Linked DNA regions of Homo sapiens: regions 2, 3 and 4 are each linked to region 1. The links are contacts of gene promoters, found by promoter capture Hi-C in blood cells and fetal thymus (Javierre and others, 2016). All regions are on one chromosome and are shown on one strand. The core of a region is centred on a gene start or on the middle of the fragment in contact, and the rest is flanking DNA. Distances in the headings are between cores, read along the strand shown. Region 1 holds the start of TCERG1 (transcription elongation regulator 1). Region 2 overlaps LARS1 (leucyl-tRNA synthetase 1). Region 3 overlaps LARS1 (leucyl-tRNA synthetase 1). Region 4 overlaps LARS1 (leucyl-tRNA synthetase 1).

Region 1 (5,568 bases), core at 1,840-4,339:
TCATTTTTTATTTGAGATGAAGTCTCACTCTGTCACACAGGCTGGAGTGCAATGGCGAGATCTCAGCTCACTGCAACCTCTGCCTCCCAGGTTTAAGCGATTCTCCTGCCTCAGCTTCCCAAGTAGCTGGGACTATAGGCACGTGCCACCATGCCTAGCTAATTTTTGTATTTTTTCAGTAGAGACGGGGTTTTGCCATGTTGGCCACGCTGGTCTCGAAATCCTCAGGTGATCCACCTGCCTCGGCCTCCCAAAGTGCTGGAATTACAGGCGTGAGCCACAGCGCCCGGCCTGTTTTCATCTTTTATATATGCTAGTGACTTATTTTCTATAAGCTTTCTATTTTGAATCTTTTTTTAGTAGGAATTAGTTTGTAATGAGCCATCTATACCAGTATTATTTTCAGAATATTGACCAGAACTTGGGGATACACACTGATGTTGAAAAAGGGATCTAACTCCCAACTTTTAGTCAAACTATAGTTTGTTCAAATGCCACACCTTTTTTTTTTTCTTTTTTAAGACAGTGTCTCACTCTGTATCCCACGCTGGAGTGCGGTGCTGCAATTACAGCTCACAGTAGCCTCGACTCAAGTGGGCTCAAGCGGCCCTCCCACCTCTGCCTGTCAAGTAGCTGGGACCACAGTCATGCACCACAATGCCTGGCTAATATTTTTGATTTTTTGTAGTGGTGAGGTCTCACCATTTTGCTCAGGCTGGTTTCAAACTCCTAAACTCAAGCAGTCCTCCCGCCTTGGCCTCCCAAAGTGCTGGGATTACAGGCCTGTGGCACCACACCCAGCCTCAAATGTCACATCTTTAACAAAATTTTCACCATGCTCTCCTCCAATTACTCATGCTCAGAACTGTGTGAAGCCTTTATCACAATTTATCATATTTAATTGATTTTGAATATTTAACTGGAATTCAGTGTAGAATGGTGTTTTTGAATTAAAATATAATTCACATACAATAAAATTCACCTTTTAAAGTATACGAGTTGGCTGTATGCAGTGGCTCACACCTGTAATCCCAGCACTTTGGGAGGCCAAGGTGGGCAGATCACTTCAGCTCAGGAGTTCAAGACCAGCCTGGCCAACATGGCAAAACCCCGTCTTTACCAAAAATATAAAAAATTAGCTGGATGTGGTGGCGGAGGCCTGTGGGAGCTACTTGGGAGGCTGAAGTGTGAGGATCGCTTGAGCCTGGGAGGCGGAGGTTGCAGTGAGCTGATATCATGCCACTGCACTCCAGCCTGGGTGACAGAGTGACACTCCCTCTCAAAATAAGTAAATAAATAAATAAATAGTATAGAATTCAATGGGTTTTAGTATATTCACAAAGTTGTGCAACCATCAGCGCCAATTCCAGAACATTTTTATCATCCAAAAAGACATTCCATATCCATCAGCAGTCACTTCCAATTCCTCATTCCCCTCTACCTCCTGGAAACCACTGTTCTACTTTCTGTCTGTATGTATTTGCCTGAAATGCAATGCAATTTCATCATATTTCATGTAAATGGAATCATACAACAGGCGGCCTTTTTGTATGTGGCTTTTTATGTCTGAACAATATTTCATTGTACAGTTATACCATGTTTCTTTTTTTTTTGAGACGGAGTCTCGCTCTGTTGCCCAGGCTGGAGTGCAGTGGCGCGATCTCTGCTCACTGCAAGCTCTGCCTCCGGGGTTCACGCCATTCTCCTGCCACAGCCTCCCGAGTAGCTGGGACTACAGGCGCCCGCCACCACGCCGGGCTATTTGTTTTTAGTAGAGACAGGGTTTCACCGTGTGAGCCAGGATGGTCTTGATCTCCTGACCTCGTGATCCGCCCGTCTAGGCCTCCCAAAGTGCTGGGATTACAGGTTTGGGCCACCGCGCCCGGCCTATACCATGCTTCTTAACCATGCATCAGCTGATGGTCATTGGGTTGTTACAATACTTTTTGGCTATTATGAATATTGCTGCTGTGAACATTTGTGCACATGTTTTTATGTGGATCCAATTATTTAGGCTTACAGTATTTAAGAGTGCTGCTTTGCTACTACGCTGACTGGGGTTAAGACCAGGCTCTGCTATTTAGTAGATGTGTGACCTTGGGCAAGTTACTTAACTTCTCTGTGCCTCAAGCTCATCTACAAACAGTGACTATGTTACCCACCTCCTAGCAATTTTTGAATCTTAAAAGAGTTAACGTACCTGACATACTTAGATCCGGGTTTGCTACATGGTTAGGTCCAAGTAAAATTTATCTATTAGTATTATTTTAATATTTTTACGACTTTAATAAAAGGGCTCATCTTCATTGTGCCTTTGAAACCCCAAATCCAAAACTTTTTTTTTTGTTAATTAGAAAAACTAAATAAATATTCAGAATTGTCTGGTATTCTGGGTGTGCTAATTTCAGACAAGCACATTTTGAGATCGAGGGAGACGTGGTTAAGCTGTAAATTGCAAAGAGGCTTGCCTTCGCCAATTTACCTTTCTTAATGCAGCAACTTATAACACCTATTGGCTTGCAACGGTTTAGTATAATTTGGGAGGTATTCTTGTAATTAATAATATATTATTTAATAACATGGATATAGAGCTGAGTGGTGACTTAAGACTCCTGCTACTGTAAAGCTAGGAAATAGCGGCTTTCCACAGCAACTGTGCAATCGGTTTAGGCGCGGCCCAGGTCGATTTTGATTGGCTTGCCCAGTGGAAATGCTCTCCGCCTGAGCTACTACTGGCCAATATGGCTCCACAATTGGCTCTCCTGGAAGCCGACAGACACGTGGCTACCGCAGGCTGAGCCGAACTTGGGAGGACTTAGTTCTGCTTACCGCGAGAGGGCGCCGGCGGTTCCTCACTGCTAAAATCTCATTTCCCATAAAGCCCCCGAGTCACCAATCAACTGGCTGTCTTCATACCGCTTTCAAAGTCGGCGGGCGCCTTGCCCAATAGCAAAGAACATATCGCCCCCATTTCGAAGATTGATGGAAAGTTTGACCAACCGCATCTCAGACTTCTGCTGTCTCCGCCTCTCTCGTTGGGGATTGACGATTTTTCTAGCCAATAGGAGACGTCGGGTCGGCGGGTGGATGAACGCGGCCCTCTGTAATGGCGGAGCGTGGCGGGGACGGGGGCGAGAGTGAACGATTCAACCCGGGGGAGCTCAGGTAAGGAACGCTGCCCTCCTTCACATCTCTGCTCACGAGAGCCCCAGAGGCTAGACGCTAGACCTGCCATGTGGAGATCCGGGGCGGACGGTGGGTAGCGGAGCCGGGCGGCCCGGGCCGGGACCGCATGGGGTTTAAGAAGGGGGAAGGGGAAGGTGGCTTGAATGAGAGCCGGGCCCGGGCTGGGCCAGGGCCTCCTGCGCGTTCCCTGGCTGCTTCCTAGTGCTTTCTTGGGGCCTCGCCGCCTCTCGCGGCCTGCAGCCCTCTGGCCGGGCGCGGTGCTCCCGCCTTTGGGCCCCGCCTCAGCCGCGTGTCGCCTCCGTCTCGGCCGACCTGAGTCTGTCCCCAGGCCGCGCTCCGCTGCGGGCCTGATTTTCCTCATCGACGTCTCTGCACTCCGCAGTTACTTTCCCTGTACCCCTCGCCACTTCTGGCTAAGCCTTCTCCACGCCCTCCGCGGCTCTTTGGGCTCCCCACGTTTGCCCTTTCATTTCATCCCCCTCATTGCTTGCCTTTCTTAACTTCTGTGGCTTTTCTTCCTTTTTTCATCCCTTTATTCCTTATTATCCTGTAGTTGTGAGTAACAACAACAGTAGCAACCCCTTATTAGGCACTTACCGTGTGCCAGTAAACCCTTTACTTAGGTTTGTCTCATTTAATCCTCACAACCACCCTTTGGAGTAGTTGCTATTAACATTTTGCAGGCCACAGACCAGAGGGGTCTTCAGTTGTTACTCGCCCATCTTACAGGTGAGATAACAGCCTCGTGGAGGTTGAGTCAGTAGAATAAGATTGCATAGGCGGATTTGTGGCTCCAGGAAGTGGCTTGAACTCAGGCAGTCAGGTTTCAGAGCCTGCAATCCCAATTGGCGTTCTATTCGTCTACTACTCATGCCATTTCCTTGAACAGTGCAGTGACCTTTTTTTCCCCTGGAACCTCAGTGTCTATGAGTTTGTAATTAAAATTTGGTAAAATGAGAGTGACCTGGAGAAATCTTTTGGTCAGTGGTTTTTGAGGAAAAGAGGTATTATGCTTTATGTGTATTTGGTACTTTGGTTTTTTTCTGTATGGGAGAAATGGCATTTCAGATGTTCAGCTCCCATTCTGAATTGTGCTGTTGTCAACGTTTGAAAATGAAAAAGAGCAGGGTAGATTATGAAGACTCTGTTGATACTGTCTTGAACTTAAGATGAAATTGTGTAAGGAAATGGGTATTGTTATTCAAGGTTTTAGAAGAGGAAAATGCCTTTCAGATTCTGTATGGTCGCACACACAAATCTCCACTTTGGCAGAAATGAAATTTTGTTTTATTTCAGAGATGAATCTGAAATCCTTTAAACTCCATATGTATACAGTATTAATGAGTGATCAAGGTGAATTGTCAGCATCTTTAAATATTAGCGATGCCAAGTTTATTCCTGATTTCGATCTTAAAGGGAGGTTACTTAGCTAGTTTCAGATGGATTTATTAGGGAACATTCTTTTGCATTTTAGAAAGTATCTTTCTAAAGCTTTAAAAAAATCCAAATGGCTTTATTAATAGTCTAGACACTGTTGCACAACTGATTTGAATAGAGCTTTAATTTGCAAATGAATTTGCCCTGTTGCAAATATTTTATACCGTAGCCTCTTGGATTGGAAGTTGCTTGCAGAGCATACTGTACAGATCTTTATTTTAGCATTTCTCATGAAATTAGGTGTGTATGTGGCCTCTTTGATGGCAGAAGTTGGGGCTTAATTTTTGCATTATATTTGTAACCTGAATGTACTTCATGGTGTGTCTGTCATAACCGCCTGGCAAATGAGATGTTCTGTAGTTATGTTGTAAATAAATGAAGATAGGAGATTTAAAGATACTTCACTTATTGGGCCGACATTTATTGTGTGCTACATGACAGTTGCTGACCTAGGTGCTGGTAATAGTGCCCTGAACCAGACCGAAAAAAGAGGTTTGTCCTGCAGGAGCTTCCAGCTTAAGTAAGAGCCATCTAAATTGTAAATGAAATCAACCACATCAAATGATTAAATCTGCCTGTAAGTGTGAAGTGACTTACACAAGGTCACTGGGTAGTTGGCAGGGTCTGGACTAAACCTCAGGTCTCCTCAATCATAGTTTATACAATTTGCCCCCATATATCGGTAGCATCTTTTTATTTCTTGCCCCTCCAGTTAAAGTATTGTCTTTAGCATTGGGGAGATTGCATATCTGGATAGAGAACTTCTATTGTAGAAAAATACCTTATGTTTGTATTTCCATGATGTTCTTGTGAAATATTTTTGTTCCTTCTATTCATGCAAGTAGGCTTTTGTTTTTCAGAAAGGTTGTAAGTGGTAGGAATGCAAATCACAATAGATGGAAAATTTATAGACGTTCCAAATACCATTAAAGTAACTTCCAGAGT
Region 2 (5,568 bases), core at 1,108-3,607, 310 kb before region 1:
ATAGCCTAACTAAGGTTGTAGCCAAGTTTTTTTTTTTTTTTTTTTTTTTTTTTGAGACAGGGTCTCTGTCACCTAGGCTAGAATGCAGTGGTATGATCACAACTCACTGCAGCCTCAAACTCCTAGGCTCAAAGAATCTTCTCACCTCAGCCTCCCAAGTACTAGGACTACAGGCGCAAGCCACCACACCCAGCTAATTTTTTTTTTTTTTGTAGAGACAGGATCTCACTTTGTTGCCCTGGCTGGTCTCAAACTCCTGGGCTCAAGCAATCCTCCCACCTCAGCCTTTCAAAGTGCCTGGTTTACAGGCGTGAGCCACAGTGCCTGGCCATAGCCAGGTTTTAATTATTGCATTTACAATAACTAATACTGGATATCAGAAAAAAATTTTCTCATACCAATCCAGGTTCTTCTTAATTTGGCCTAATCTGGCCCCAACCTGTTTCATTTCCTACCTCTGCCCACAAGATAATGTACTTCAAATAAATATCAGACCCTTTCCATGGCTTATCCACACTTTCTCCTCTCCCTGAAAACATTGTTTATTTTTCAAGAAACCCAGAATTTGGCCGGGCGTGGTGGCTCACGCCTGTAATCCCAGCACTTTGGGAGACTGAGGCAGGTGGATCACAAGGTCATGAGTTCGAGACCAGCCTGGCCAACACAGTGAAACCCCATCTCTACTAAAAATACAAAAAATTGGCCAGACGTGGTGGCAGGCACCTGTAATCCCAGCTAGTAGGGAGGCTGGGGCAGAAGAATAGCTTGAACCTGGCAGAGGCTGCAGTGAGCTGAGATTGTGCCATTGCACTCCAGCCTGAGTGACAGTGCGAGACTCTGTCTCAGGAAAAAAAAAAAAGAAACCCAGAAGTCACATGACATCTCTGAATTCTCCTTGTCTCTATTATTGTGCTTAGAAACTGGGTGTTTGTCTCTCTTGCTAGACAATAAGGATCAGGTCTCATTCATCTTTATAATACCAGTGCGTAGGATGACTCCAAAGATATTTATCCTTTTCTTTTAATCTACTTTTCCTTTAACCATTTTGCCCTACTCGAAAACAAGACAACATGGTAAAATGGTTATGAGAACAGACTTTCAAGACAGACAGAAGCAAGTTCATATCCCAAGTTTGCAACTACTAGCTTTAAGGCATTTAAGGAAATACTTAATTGTTCTAAGCTTCAGTTTCTTTATTTATAAAATAGAGCTAATAATATCTGTATTAAATAAGGTTGCTTTGAGGTTAAAGTCAGATAATGGACACAAAATACTTAGCATAGTACCCGGCACAAGTAAGCCTTCAATGAACACTAGCTATTATTATCATTAGTTTATTTTATTAAAAAAAAAAAAGAAAAGAAAAGAAAAAGAAAACAAAAATGCACCAGGACTAAGTAACTCTAAAACACAAAATGATTGGGATCTACAGATTACCTGGCAAAAACTCTATCATTGAAAGTGCTGGCAGGACCACTTCTTAGGCTGTCCCAGTTGGCAACCATTTCTTTCACCCACTCTACCCAGGTGTACAGACGGAGAATACCTGCATCTGCCATGGCTTCCACAAAGTTGGCATCTTCTACAGTGTCACCAGCATCAGCCAGAGCCAAACGCATTCCTGGAAGAAGAAAAAAAAATTCAATGCATTAAAAATATGGTTACTGAGTATCAACTGTGTCCTATGTGTCCAGTTGGATACCTTGCAAAGCCCATATATAAATTAACAAATGCTTTAAAGGACTGTCCTGGATCAACAACAAAAATTAAAATCACCAAAAAGTAGCATCCCTAACCGTGATGTTAAAATATTCGAACCATCCATATTGATTTGCATCCACTAAGCACCAATATGTGTTTCTTCTCAGGCATGTTGAGTTAATGAGATAAAGTGATCTTTAATGAGGCAGAGATAGAAAATGATAAAGTGGGGATAAAGACACACCTTTCATTGTGGTTTTCTTATCAACATTTCAGCCTCATTTAGAGGTAGCAAAATACATTTTAATACATGAGAATACACACTGGTGCCTTATGTGTACAAATGCATATGAATTTTTCTCAGTTTTGAAACTAGGTTCTTACAAGTTTATCACTAATAAAACTTTACTTTTTCAATTCTCATCTCTCAGTACTACCAAAATCTTCCATTCTAAAATATTGAAAAAAAGAACCTAAATGTCCATCAATTAAACTGTAGGATATCCCTACAATGGAACACTATAGGGTTGCAAAAAAAAAAAAAAAAAAAAGAGGGAACTCATTATGTAGTTATTTCCGTCTTTAGCTTTGGTGTCCAATCAAAGCATTCAGGTTCTGCACTTTGCCTTTTCCACTTAACAGTTCATATTTGTATACTAACCCATACATACACATATCTATGTTTTTTGTTTGTTTGTTTGAGATGGAGTTTCGCTCTTGTTGCCCAAGATAGAATGCAATGGCGCGATCTCGGCTCAGTGCAACCTCCGCCTCTTGGATTCAAGCAATTCTACTGCCTCAGCCTCCTGAGTAGCTGGGATTACAGGCATGCGCCACCACGCCCGGCTAATTTTGTACTTTTAATAGAGACAGGGTTTCTCCATGTTGGTCAGGCTGGTCTGAAACTCCCGATCTCAGGTAAACTGCCCACCTCAGCCTCCCAAAGTGCTGGGATTACAAGTGTGAGCCACCACACCCAGCTGTTTAGTTTTATATCTACATATCTATACACAAAATAAAAATCATGAGCTCATACTTTTATCACCAAATCCAATCTGACCCCATAGGGCTCATTCTAGCATTTTCTCTTTACTTATTTATAGCTTCTTTTTCTGATAGTGAGCTCTGTGAGGCAGAGGTTCTCATTATCTACCTGTTTACTTATTTATTCAATCCTAATATATACATAAAGTGGTTTCATAATTGCTTATATATCTTGTAAGAAACAGACTAACTATATTATTTGGATACAGTTCCGTCTTTGGCTTTGGTGTCCAGTCAAAATACTGAGAACACAAACTGAGTTAGCCATGACCAATAAAAAGAAGTACCATGATGACCAATGACTAATTATATAAGAAATGAATGGTTCTTTCAGGATAGTGCATTTCTTCTCTTGACACGATAATAATAAAATGTAATAGGACTGAGGCCAGACAAAAAAACAATTTTCTGAAAAAATCAATGTTCCCAGGTTCAAGACACATTTAGGAATACCAAATACAGGCCAGGCATGGTGGCTCATGCCTATAATCCCAGCACTTTGGAAGGCCAAGGAGGGTGGATCACTTGAGGCCAAGAGTTCAAGACCAGCCTGGCCAACAAGGCAAAACCCCGTCTCTACTAGAAATACAAAAATTAGCCAAGCGTGCAGGCACATGCCTGTAATCCCAGCTATTTGAGAGGCTGAGGCACAAGAATCGCTTGAACCCTGGAGATGGAGGTTGCAGTGAGCCAAGATCATGCCACTGTACTCCAGCCTGGGTGACAGAGCAAGACTCTGTCTCAGTTAATAAGAATGGAATACCAAATACAGAGGAAATATCTTGGAAAAGCTTCCTACATACTCAACATTTTTTTTTGAGACAGAGTTTCACTCTTGTTGCCTAAGCTGGAGTGCAATGCAATCTCAGCCCACTGCAACCTCCGCCTCCCGGGTTCAAGCGATTCTCCTGCCTCAGCCTCCCAAAGTAGCCTGGATTACAGGCACCTGCCACCACACCCAGCTAATTTTTTTTTTTTTTTTTGTATTTTTAGTTGAGACAGGATTTCACCATGTTGGCCAGGCTGGTCTTGAACTCCTGACCTCAGGTGATACACCCACCTCGGCCTCCCAAAGTGCTGGGATTACAGGCGTGAGCCACCGCGCTTGGCCCATACTCAACATCTCTACAAAACAAGTCTTGAATCTTAGCAATGATATTGAGTTCATTAAAGGAAGACTCAAACTAACTTCAGCTTGATTTGTTCCTGAACACATCATGTCAGCAATTCTTATATATTAAATATTATGTTGCTCATCCACAAAGGAAACATTAAGATTTTAAAATTTTGTTAAAAGCAAAACAGAAAGTAAAATTAAAACACCAATTTTAACGTGTCTTCTATAATCTGAGAACTGGACCCTACAGAACAGCAATAAGAAAAATGTTTACTCACCATCTGCTGAAAATTTGTCAATAGCTTGGGTCAAAGTGAGGAAGTTGCCTGTGGATTTTGACATCTGAAATAGAGAGTCAGTGATCAATCATTAATAACAGTAATATAAATAAACCAAATGAGCCAAATAAAATTAACTAGGTTGGCCATGACCAGATAAAAACAAAAAAGAATTCAAAATACGGAAAGGAAAAGATATTACACTAATTTTAGAGCGGTGAAAACTGAATTTCATCCGATAAAGTGCCTTGTTTGGGTTACTCAGCTATCAGTGACACAGCTAGGAGAGGACCTCCAGACTCACACTCAGTCCACTGTGATTTAGCCTATACTGTCTGGGTTAGACATGTGTAATGATTCCACTATAACTCTAGAACACCACCTGGTTACCTAAGAAAGAGCTTTACGGCAATTAGAATCATTCAGAAATGGAATGGACCAGCTCATGAGGTTGGAGTTATGATTTTAGGAACCCTCCTATCATTAGGGTCACAAAAATCGGTTGTTCAAGTTGTGCTCTGCCTTAGGGCAATGCATCGGAAGAGGCACCACTCACAGCCTAGCAATCTTTATCGCTTTAAAATTGTATGTCATTAGTTTAACTATGCTGATATCAGAAGGAAATGATGATTATATCAGTTTTCTATTATACTACATGGCAATACATATCTTGTTCTAATAAAATCAGGATAGTACAACAACTTTCAGACAGCCAAAGAAAATGTCATGTTCTAACAAGAATAATAAATGTATTGTTCTTCTTTGACTTACAAAGAAGAAATGAGTTCAATAATCAAAGGTTCCTTATTGAGCTAACAAAATCTATTAAAATCGCCTGTGCTTCTAAACAGCAGTTTTTCAGTCTAATATACAGATTACCTATTTTTTTTTTTTTTTTGAGATGGAGTCTTGCTCTGTTACCCAGGCTGGAGTGCAGTGGCGCAATCTTGGCTCAGTGCAACCTCCGCCTCCCTCGGTTCAAGGGATTCTCTTACCTCAACCTCCTGAGTAGCTGGGATTACAGGCGCGCACCATCATGCCCAGCTAATTTTTGTACTGTTAGTAGAGACGGGGTTTCACCATGTTGGTCAGGCTGGTCTCTAACTCCTGACCTCGTGATCTGCCCGCCCTGGCATCCCAAAGTGCTGCAATTAACGGGCGTGAGCCACCGCACCCGGCCACAGATTATCTTAAAGGAACATCTTTTATTACCTTTCAATATTAGGGCACAGGCTAAGTCTGATGTTACATAATGCAATTTACATCAGCTGCCATTTGTTTAAAGCTACAACTATTTTCTCCTTTTTCCCTTTTTTTGAGATGCAGTTTCACTCTTGTCGCGCAAGGCCTGAGTGCAATGGCACGTTCTCAAATCACTGTAACCTCTGCCTCTCGGGTTCAAGCGATTCTCCTGCCTCAGCCTGCAGC
Region 3 (5,568 bases), core at 1,072-3,571, 300 kb before region 1:
TTTTATTATAGCTCCAGGTTCTACTGTAGAACTCACTGCTAATAACACTGTCAAGTCTATTAACAGCTCTTCTAAAACAGCCTTCAGAGCATAGCCTATCACATACAGCGTCAATCATCTTTTTCTGAATAGTCTTCTTTACATCTTGAACCTTCTGTCCTTTAAATCCATCCACCAACATGATCTAAAAGGATGAGAGGGGAGAAAAACCACATATAAAACAGTTAGAATCTGCCTTGAGTTTCTTTCCTAATTTTCCCTAACTAAATTTGCTTCTGCCCACCGAAATATTTTTAGTATGAAATTTATCATATTTACAACGATAATTTTTCATTTTGGTATAGCATGGATAACTAATATTTATAACACACTTATCGTTCTGTCAGTGATACCCACACCTCACTAGGTATCACGGAGATACCTAGTGTGAGCATGATTAGGAAGGAATACTCACTTCCACTTCTTAAGTTTCCACATAGACAGACTTCAATTACACTCACTCACCTCATTCCTGGTGGTTTCTGAAGGAACTAAGTACATTCGGCTTCATCTAATTAGGCTCCTCTTTCTAACCCCACCTGCTGCAGGTGAGTATTCTTTGCCTGACCATGTGATAAAGCTTGCTCTTAGAAGGAGGCCTACTCTTTCACCTCTATCTTTTTCAGTAGGCCAATAACATTCTAGGGCAAAGTATTAGCTTATCCATTGTTGCCATCAATTAAGCCTCAATCACCTTCCAGCTTTCTCTGGTAATAAAGCAGATATTTTCACCTACATGACTCTTATTTTCATCTACATGACTCTTATATTTCTCTCAAATTGTTTCTATCTTAGGTAGAAAAGACATGCATTCTCTTTTGACATTCTAAACCTCTAACATACCAAAATACTTCAATATCTATTTAATCCAGCATTATAAAGTTATATTTAATGAATGCAGTGATTAAGAACACAAATCTGAATTAGCTGGGTGTGATGGCAGGGGCCTGTAATCCCAGCTACTCAGGAGGCTGAGGCAGGAGAACTGCTTGAGCCCAGGAAGCAGAGGTCGCAGTGAGCCAAGATTGAGCCACTCCACTCCAGCCTGGGCGACACAGCAAGACTCCGTCTCAAAAAAAAAAAAAAAAAGAACACAAATCTGGCCAGGTGCAGTGGTTCAAGCCTATACTCCCAGCACTTTGGGAGGCCAAGGTGGGCAGATCACTTGGGGTCAGGAGTTCGAGACCAGTCTGACCAATATGGTGAAATCCTCGTGTCTACTAAAAATACAAAAATTAGCTGGTCATGGTGGCACGTGCCTGTAGTCCCAGCTACTCAGGAGTCTGAGGCAGGAGAATCGCTTGAACCCGGAAGTTGGAGGCTGCAGTGAGCTGAGATTGAGCCACCGCACTCCAGCCTGTGAGACAGAGCAAGACTCCGTCAGATAGACACACACACACACACACACACACACACACACACACACACAAATGTAAATCCCAGAGCCAGGCTACCTAGTTTGAATTCCAGTTCCCACTGGCTAACTATCTGGCTAATCTCAAGTAAATCAGTTAATAATCTCTTTGTGCCTCCATTTCCTCATCCGTAAATTGGAGATAAGAGTGCCTACTTCAGAATGGGGTTATTTTCAGAATTAAGTAAATTAATATATAAGTGCTACATAAGTGTTGCTTTTATCATCATTCAAAATATGTGTCACTTCAAAAAAAAGAAATGTAACCAATTCTTGGTTATCCAGAAAAATGTAGGAAAGCTAAACTAAAAAACATTCTTGTTGATGTCCTTAAAAATCTTCATTTGACTCTGAAGCACCTAATAACTTGTTTGGATTTTTATGTTCTCTAGCCTAGCCTTCTTTCCATGGAAATATAAACCACATTAACATATGCACAATTAGGAGAAAAGAATGGTTCAGAACATGTTTGTTGAACTCACCTGGCATTTAGTAGACATTAATAAATAAATTAATGGACTGAATAAAACTGCTTATCTAAAATATGAACTCCTTAACTAAAAGAGCAAAAGAAGGGACCAGGTATTCTCCATTCAATAAATCTTTGAAGTTTACTGCATAATAATATGAACTAATTTGAAATATCTTGTCAAGAAATTCACTCCATAGAGATTCCTAGAGGGCACGAAAAAGACAATTTCTGAAAATGCTTTTAGGCAAAGGACATGATAAAAACAAAAATTAGAAATTTGGAAATAGAATACATTCTCATATTAAGCTCTCAAATCAATGTATAGCTGAAACTATGTTAAATTTTTCTACATTTTTTCTAATTAAGAAAATCACAGAGCATGGAGTAAAGCAAATAAAAACTAAAAAAAATTATTACTTACACCCTCATAAAATCCTTTTAGATATATCTTCTCCTTTGCTTCTGCAAGTTTTTCCCGGTCATTCTGGCTCTGAATTTTCAACTCATCACAAATGGTTACAGCAGAAAGATTTCCAAAACCTGGGATTTCAATGACTGGCACCTGCAGCAAACAGCAATCAGGAACGTGTTCACACTGACTGGACACACAGCTCTGTAGGGCACAAGTCCTTTTGCCTCTAATGTCCAATTAAGTCATTTCAGATTGTATATGTCATTACGACACTGCCACACATTAAGTAATCACAGAGTGACTAACTTCCAGATGTAAATTTGTCCTTCTACTCTCCACAGGAACCACCCATACTCTGTGTACCAACACCCCCAATGCCCTTCCCCCACCACACACACCTTTCCCAACACTCTATCCTCCACTGGCATATAATTACCTAAGTAATTCATACTGAAACTAGCAAAATGATGTAAACCAGGGGTTCCCAACCCCAAGGATGTGGACCGGTACCAGTCCATGGCATTAGGAACCAGGCTGCACAGCAGGAGGTGAGGAACGGGCGAGCATCACCCCCTGAGCTTCACCTCCTGTCAGATCATGGGTGGCATTAGATTCTCATAGAAGCACGAACCCTATTGTGAACTGTGCATGGAGGGATCTAGGTTGCTTGCTCCTTATGAGAATCTAATGCCTGATGATCTAAGGTGGCACAGTTTCATGCCAAAACCATTCCCCTACCACACCCTGCTGGTCCATGGAAAAATTGTCTTCCACAAAACCAGTCCCTGGTGCCAAAAAGGTTGGGGCCTGCTGATGTAAACAACTAGATTCATGGATGGTTGTGCTTTTGGTTTATATTAATTCCTCTGGATCTTTCATGAAATGAAAATCATTTGCTAGTAATTTAAAAGTTTTTCTTCTATAGATACTAACATGAAAATACAAGAAACATAAAACAGAGTTGTACAGGACTTTGTTAAAGTTATTATGGTTACATATAAACATTCATGAAAAGGGCAAAATTTTATCTTTAGAAGCCAGGAAATTGATCACACTAGCAAAGCAAGCTACTATAAAATTGGTGATGCTAAAAAGCTATTTGTTCCAGAACTGCAGGTGCCAGGTGGTAAGAAAATGCTTGTTAGTTTTCCTTTTGCTCTTATCTACCATAGCAGGTATCAAATTAAAGTGAGTAAATCCTTAAGCAAACTCTCTTTTTCATACTCCACCAATTAATTTTGTTATAAGGAAAACATGTTAGCTCTTCTTTTTCTCTGATAAAGAGATGGATGTGAATATTCTGAATTATCTATGTACTCACCGGCTCAAATGGCAAGACCATGTCATCTCTAATTCCATATTTTGCTCGTAAGGCCTACAGAAAAATTTGCAAGTTAACACTAATGATCAACACTTTACTGGGAGAATCATTGAGAGAAGCAATCTCCAAAGTTTCTTAAAAGTTTCTTTAAAGTTTCTATTTGTTCTCCTCTCCATAGAGAGCAATTTTCTAACTTTGCCAAATATCTCAAAAGGGATCTGTAACCTTCAAAAATTTAATAGCTAAAGTTATAGTGAATAGCCTAAATGAAACCACACAACCAAAAGCAAAAATGTACATAGACATACACATATCACTTAAATTGAGGTTCATATGCCAGATTTCAATGAAAATGTGAATATCAGAAAGCTTTTTCAAAATTCTGTGAACATATTTAAAATTCAAACCACAGAAAATATATTAACATCAAGAAACAAGTTAGAGATAGCAGTTTAAAGATAAATGCATAGCTTTTTAGCCTAGTCCCACAGCGTAGTTCAGCAGCACCTAAGCAATGAGATGGTGAGGACGAAATACAAACATGAAACTCAGATACTTACTTGCTTTTTCTTCAAGTCTCTGAGGGCAGCAATATCATCAGGGGAGTCGGAAGGAACACTTGTAACCACACCAGTGCCTTAGAAAACAAAGTGTGGAATTAATAACTAGAACCAAAATGTGTTTATCAAAATATTTCTAGAAATAAATAAACTCTTTACCTTTATCCTCCTTAATAGTTAGCATTGGGAGAACATAGATCACCTTGTATGATGTTAAAGGTGCAGAAAGTGATGCACCAAGAATTTCCTGCATAAGAAAAAAATCAATATAAAAGGTGAAGTAATTCATTGTGACCATTAGAATTAAAACTATGTTAATATTTTAAGCCCTGAGAAGCTAGTAATCAAAAATATATGGAAATAAATTCAAGAGCTATATTGTACAATATGGTGACTATAGGAAATAACAATGTATTTTATACTTGAAAATTGCTGTGTAGATTTTTTTAAGAGACAGAGCCTTGCTATGTTGCCAAGGCTAGAGTGTAGAGGCTATTCACAGGTGCTATCATAGCATTCTACAGGCTCAAGCTCCTGGGCTCAGGCAAGCCTCCTGAGGTCCCAGCCTCCCAAGTAGCTGGCTCTACAGGTGCATACCACTGCACCTGATTTAAATTTTAACTCTTCTCACCACAGAAAATGGTAAGTACGTAAGGTATAAATTTGTTAATTACCTCAATTTAGCCATTTCACAATGTATATATATTTCAAAACATATTGCGTACCATAAATACAATTTCTGTCAATTAAAAAATGAATACAGGCTGAGCGCGGTGGCTAACGCCTGTAAACCCAGCACTTTGGGATGCTGAGGCAGGCAGATTGCCTGAGCTTAGGAGTTCGCGACCAGCCTGGGCAACATGGTGAAACCCCGTCTCTACTAAAATACAAAAAATTAGCCAGGCGTGGTGGCATGCGCCTGTAGTCCCAGCTATTTGGAAGGCTGAGGCGGGAGAATTGCTTGAACCCGAGAGGTGGAGGTTGTAGTGAGCCAAGATCGTGCCACTGCACTCCAGCCTGGGTGACAGAGGGAGACCCCGTCTCAAAAAATAAAGAAAAGAATATAAATAAAATACATATGAAGTAAAACAAAACACATTATTTTATACCTACTAGAGGAAAAATAATTTTTTTTTTGAGATGGAGTTCTGCTCTTGTTACTCAAGCTGGAGTGCAATGGCATGATCTCGGCTCACTGCAACCTCCGCCTCCCAGGTTCCAGCGATTCCTGCCTCAGCCTCCCATGTAGCTGGGATTACAGGCATGCACCACCACGCCTGGCTAATTTCTGTATTTTTAGTAGAGACAGGGTTTCACCATGTTGGCCAGGCTGGTCTTGAACTCCTGACC
Region 4 (5,568 bases), core at 1,872-4,371, 280 kb before region 1:
AAAGTAAATTTTATGGTATGTAAATTTTTAAAAAATTCAACCACGATGCTGAAGGAACCTGAGGAATGCAGACTGTGACAAATCTATCTAACTGCATTACAAATATATGATATAACCACACTCAAGGGGGAGGGAAGAAAGGAGCTGATCTAGGCAGTTTTGGAAAACAGTGTGATTAGATTCTAAAGACAAAAAGAATTACACACAAACACTGTACTTTTGTCAGTAAAATTGTTTCTCCCAGGGGTATAGGTTGGCAATTCTGAAACTACTAGTAGTCTAGGATGGAACAAATAAAGAAATATACTATAGGTAATGAGAGCCAAGTTTCTCACTGTTGTAGTAAGAAGTCACAAATAAGCCAAGGGAAAATGCTAGAATGAGACCCATGGTGCTAAAATGGAGCCAGGGGTATCAATATGAACTTACTTGTTTTTTAATAAACATTCAAATACATAAAGAAATAAAAACAGATGTGTATGCATGGCTTAGCAGACATAAATATATTTCCTTGCTCTGTCCACTGAGAGTGCCTAGAAGCAGTGATACCCCCAGGCAATGAGCACACCCAGCATTCAGGCCATAGTTTCTGAACACCATTCTTCAATAAAAGAAACCTTGGAGAAGTGGTTGATTCCTTGGTTGAATCACGGAAAATACAAGCCTGGAACAGCTTGTGACACCATAAAGAAAGCAATTGCTTTGAACAAAGGAAGATGAGGGAATGTCTAATGGACACAGGAGCCAAGCTAAAAAAACTCCCAATGGCCACAGCTAGAACAATTTATTTATTCTAGCTTTATTCTAATAAAAAAGAACAATTTGACAACAAATTACGGTGTTGTTAACAACCACACACACACACTCAAAAACAACCCAATAGCCAGGCACAGAGGTATAAGCCTATAGTTCCAGCTACTCAGGAGACTGAGGTGAGAAGACAGCTTGAGCCCCAGAGCTGAAGACCAGCAACATAGTGAGACTCCATCTCTTAAAAAACAAAAAGCTCAATGGTATTGGCTTATAACCTGAAGAATAAAGTGAATATCCATGAATCCATATGACATAGAAAGGACAGATTAAGTAAGTGGGGGAGAAAGGACAGCTCTTCTTTTCAGAGGAATTATAGATAATAAATGTAAAAAGAAAGAGGAAAATGGAAAATCATGATTAGAAGACTAGAGTAATAATTGTTGTAGGCAAGATCCACTGATGAATGCTAAAATTAATGAGCAAATATTTAAAAAGAAACACAGTATTATTTCCATGGCCTCAAAAGATCTCTCCCAAAATATATATTAATTATTTAAAAAAAAATGAAATCTTTACAGGAGAAAAACCTGGCAGACGCCATCTTAACCAAATGATCAATGTTAACATCACCAATAATAAGACATATCAGTATCATATACTCCCTAACGCTTGAGAACGACAAATTACCTAATAGTCTTCCTCCAAATCAATAACCTCAATCTAACGATGAGAAAGCATCAAACAAACTCAAACTGAGGCATTATCTATAATTATCTGACCCGTATTCGTTAAAAGTATAAAGGTCATAGAAGAAAACGAAAGACAGAAAAGATTAAGGAAACATAGTAAGGACACATGACAACTAACTGCAATGTGGGATCCTGGATTGGACATTGGAAGAGAAAAGGACATTAGTGAAAAAACTGGTAAAATCCAAAAAGTCTGTAGTTTAGTAAACACTACTGTACTAATGTTAATTCCTTAATTTGAAAAATAGTATCATAGTTATATAAGATTTAACATCTATATACTATCTTGCAGTTCTTCTGTAAATCTAAAATTACTTCAAAAAAGAGGAAAAAGGAAATAGGAAAGTCAGAAAGATAATTTTTTTTTTTTTTTGAGACAGAGTCTCGCTCTGTTGCCCAGGCTGGAGTGCAGTGGCGTGATCTGGGCTCACTGCAAGCTCCACCTCCAGGGTTCACGCCATTCTGATGCCTCAGCCTCCCGAGTAGCTGGGAATACAGGCGCCCACCACCACGCCCGGCTAATTTTTTGTAGAGATGGGGTTTCACCATGTTTGCCAGGATGGTCTCGATCTCCTGACCTCGTGATCCGCCCGCCTTGGCCTCCCCAAGTGCTGGGATTACAGGCGTGAGCCACCACGCCCGGCTAATTTTTTTGTATTTTTAGTAGAGACGGGGTTTCACCATGTTAGCCAGGATGGTCTCGATCTCCTGACCTCATGATCCGCCCGCCTCGGCCTCCCCAAGTGCTGGGATTACAGGCGTGAGCCACCGCGCCCGGCCTACGACCGGCTTACGCCCGGCTAATTTTTGTATTTTTAGTAGAGACGGGGTTTCACCATGTTAGCCAGGATGGTCTCGATCTCCTGACCTCATGATCTGCCTGCCTCGGCCTCCCAAAGTGCTGGGATTACAGGCTTGAGCCACCGCGCCTGGCCAGAAAGATAATTTTTTGCTTTGATACTTTAAAAAAATGATCTAGTACATTTTATGTGTTGGGCACTGTGCTAGTACTGGGAATGCACATATAAATCAGAAAAATATAAAACTTCAACCAACATAAATATCAACCACTATCAAACCTTTTTTCCTTTAGCTTTATCCTTAATTATTATATCTTCTGTTTTAACACTGGTTTCTTCCTCTTCCTCTTCTTCATCTGGAAAATCAGGGGGGCAACCATACAGCTCTATTTCTCTTTTCAACTTATCAGCACATGCCTACAACGAATATTAGAGATAATGAAGTTCAAAATCAAGGTAGACACAATTTCAGTTTTTTACTGTTTTTATTGCCAACTAAAATTGACTCTGAAATTTTTTGCAATATATTGATACCTATGTGGCTCCACTACAGAAAACTGAAACGGAGGCTGGGAGCAGTGGCTCACGCCTATAATCCCAGCACCTTGGGAGGCTGAGGCAGGCAGATCACTTGTCAGGAGTTCGAGACCAGCCTGGCCAACATGATGTCTCTACTAAATATAAAAATTAGCTGGGTGTGGTAGCACACGCCTGTAATCCCAGCTACTTGGGAGGTTGAGGTGACAGGATCACTTAAAACCAAGAGGCAGAGGGTGCAGTGAGCCGAGATCACATCACTGCACTCTAGCCTGGGCAACAAAGCAAGAATGAGTCCCATGTCTCAAAAAAATAAAATTAAATTAAAAAAAGGTATAAATCATGTACCTCAAAATTCACTAATTTATAAAGTAGTATTTTACCTAATTTACTCAAAAACATTTATTCAACACCCAGAATATTCAATATAGTATACTATATACCATATATATTAGATATATAAAGATGTAGGAAACATAATGTGTTATCATTTTGGATAACATTAATAACATTGTTTCTCAATTTAAAGATTACTGTCAGGAGGGGGGAGGGATAGCATTAGGAGATATACCTAATGTAAATGACGAGTTAATGGGTGCAGCACACCAATATGGCACATGTATACACATGTAACAAAGCTGCACATTGTGCACATGTACCCCAGAACTTAAAGTATAATAATAAAAAATAAATAAAAACAAAAATAAAATCCCACCAGCAAGAAAGAAAGAAAGAAAGAAAGATAGATTACTGTCACATATACTCTATTAGTTATCATCACAAGCCTACCAAGTAGATAGGATAGGCTTTAAGTCAGAAAACAAACAGAGATGAAGTGATTTACCCAAGGTCATACAGCTAGCAAAGTTACAGACTTAACCTTGGACTTTCCACTCTAGCTCTTATCAATTATACCACAATGAGTCCACTGTCAAAAACAAAGATGACACCAAGTAAACACTGTTAAAGTTATGAGAAAAATAAGAAATACAGAAGTAAAAATTTTTTAAATGGAAAAGGCTCTTCTATTCAGAAGAATTTCAACCACTAATAGAATAATAAAAACAGGCAAGGATGATTAAAGGATGATAAAACCAGGGTTATTGAGTAACAGGACATTCAGAGGCTCTCAAAGTGTTATCCTATAGATTACTTTTTAATTTCTTTCTTTTTTTTTTTTGAGATGGAATTTTACTCTTGTTGCCCAGGCTGGAGTGCAATGGCGCAGTTTCGGCTCACTGCAACCTCTACTTCCCGGGTTCAAGCGATTCTCCTGACATAGCCTCCGAAGTAGCTGGAATTACAGGCACCTGCCACCACGCCCGGCTAATTTTTGTATTTTTAGTAGAGATGGGGTTTCACCACGTTGGCCAGGCTGGTTTTGAACTCCTGACCTCATGTGATCCTCCTGCCTCGGCCTCCCAAAGTGCTGGGATTACAGGCGTGAGCCACCGTGTCTGGCCTTACTTTTTAATTTTATAGGAGGAAAAGTCACCTTTAGAATGAGGAAACCTGGCAGGATTAACTTAATTTCACTAAATGGGACAAATTACCATTTTATATGCTTTTGAGGTGATACAATGGTAAGTTAATACCTCAACAATGAAGTATTCTTGTCAAAATATTTAGCCCAACCCTAATCATGAAAAAACAATCAGAAAACTCATATCATAGGACATTCTACAAAATAACTAGCTTAGACTTCAAAAACATCAATATCACGACAAACAACTAAAAGACAGTGAAAAGAATGGATAATTACATGCAATGTGTGCTCCACAAAATAAAAAGTGAAAAACAGCAGGGCATAGTGGGTCAAGCCTGTAATCTCAGCACTGTGGGAAGCCAAGGCAGGCGGATCACCTAAGGTCAGGAGTTCGAGACCAGCCTGCCCAACATGGTGAAACCCTGTTTACACTAAAAATACAAAAAACATTAGCCAGGCATGGTAGCAGGCACCTGTAATCCCAGATATTCAGGAGGCTGAGGCAAGAGAATCACTTGAACTTGGGAGGCAGATGTTGCAGCAAGCCAAGATCTCACCACTGCACTCCAGACTGAGTGACAGAGCAAGATTCCGTCTCAAAAAAAAAAAAGGGGGGAAAAACAGATGGAAAGGACATTTTGAGTCTACAGAAATTTGACTACAGATTAGATGAAGACGATAATATAACATCAATGTTGAATTTCTTGGAGGGGATAACAGGACTCTGATAATGTAGAAGAATGCCCTTGTTCTTAGAATACATGCTGAAGTATTTAGCAATGACACGTCATGATATCTGCAACTTTCTTTCAAAAAGTTCACAGAAAAAGAGAGAGAGAAGGGCTAGGCGTGGTGGCTCATGCCTGTAATCCCAGCACTTTGGGAGGCCGAGGTGGGCAGATTACCTGAGGTCAGGAGTTTGAAACCAGCCTGGCCAACATGGTGAAACCCCATCTGTACTAAAAGTACAACACTGCACTCCAGCCTGGGTGACAGAGCAAGACTCCAACTCAGAAAAAAAAAAAAGAAGAAAAAGAAAGAGAAAAGCACGCATGCATGCATGTGTGCTAAGAGACAGAACTAAAACAAATATGGCAAACGTTAAGACTTTGTAACTACAGGTGAAGGGTGGAGGGTGTTCATTGTACTACCATTCCACTTTTTCTGTAGGATTGACATTCTTTAAAATAAAAGGTTGCAGAAGGCCGGGCATGGTGGCTCACGCTTGTAATCCCAGCACTTT

The links. The method cuts DNA at HindIII sites, captures the fragments that hold promoters and counts their contacts. A CHiCAGO score of 5 or more calls a contact.
Region 2: a fragment that was not itself captured here is called in contact with the fragment with the promoter of TCERG1 in region 1 in 3 of 17 cell types (activated CD4 T cells, naive CD8 T cells and naive B cells); the score reaches 6.1 in activated CD4 T cells.
Region 3: a fragment that was not itself captured here is called in contact with the fragment with the promoter of TCERG1 in region 1 in 8 of 17 cell types (activated CD4 T cells, monocytes, total B cells and 5 more); the score reaches 6.8 in activated CD4 T cells.
Region 4: a contact is called between a fragment that was not itself captured here and the fragment with the promoter of TCERG1 in region 1, in 9 of 17 cell types (fetal thymus, naive B cells, activated CD4 T cells and 6 more). The highest score is 9.1, in fetal thymus.

The regions. Positions count from the first base shown.
Region 1 is chr5:146,444,244-146,449,811 of GRCh38, forward strand. It overlaps TCERG1 (transcription elongation regulator 1), which reads left to right and starts at 3,090. Exons shown (of 23, transcript NM_001382548.1): 1 at 3,090-3,165. The coding sequence starts at 3,107. RefSeq lists an enhancer at 2,753-3,460 and a silencer at 3,379-3,458. The HindIII fragment of the contact is 4,342 bases long and covers 334-4,675 here.
Region 2 is chr5:146,131,461-146,137,028 of GRCh38, forward strand. It overlaps LARS1 (leucyl-tRNA synthetase 1), which reads right to left. Exons shown (of 32, transcript NM_020117.11): 22 at 4,141-4,204; 23 at 1,438-1,621. Among named protein-coding and RNA genes, the nearest start is that of PLAC8L1, 29 kb to the left of the region's middle. RefSeq lists an enhancer at 1,699-1,868. The HindIII fragment of the contact is 2,354 bases long and covers 1,181-3,534 here.
Region 3 is chr5:146,149,516-146,155,083 of GRCh38, forward strand. It overlaps LARS1 (leucyl-tRNA synthetase 1), which reads right to left. Exons shown (of 32, transcript NM_020117.11): 11 at 4,378-4,465; 12 at 4,219-4,295; 13 at 3,659-3,712; 14 at 2,347-2,487; 15 at 107-184. Among named protein-coding and RNA genes, the nearest start is that of LARS1, 30 kb to the right of the region's middle. RefSeq lists an enhancer at 1,950-2,119. The HindIII fragment of the contact is 3,408 bases long and covers 618-4,025 here.
Region 4 is chr5:146,165,547-146,171,114 of GRCh38, forward strand. LARS1 (leucyl-tRNA synthetase 1) reads right to left here. Exons shown (of 32, transcript NM_020117.11): 5 at 2,582-2,719. Among named protein-coding and RNA genes, the nearest start is that of LARS1, 14 kb to the right of the region's middle. RefSeq lists enhancers at 4,074-4,243, 5,474-5,568 and a cis regulatory region at 5,559. The HindIII fragment of the contact is 9,737 bases long and covers 1-5,568 here.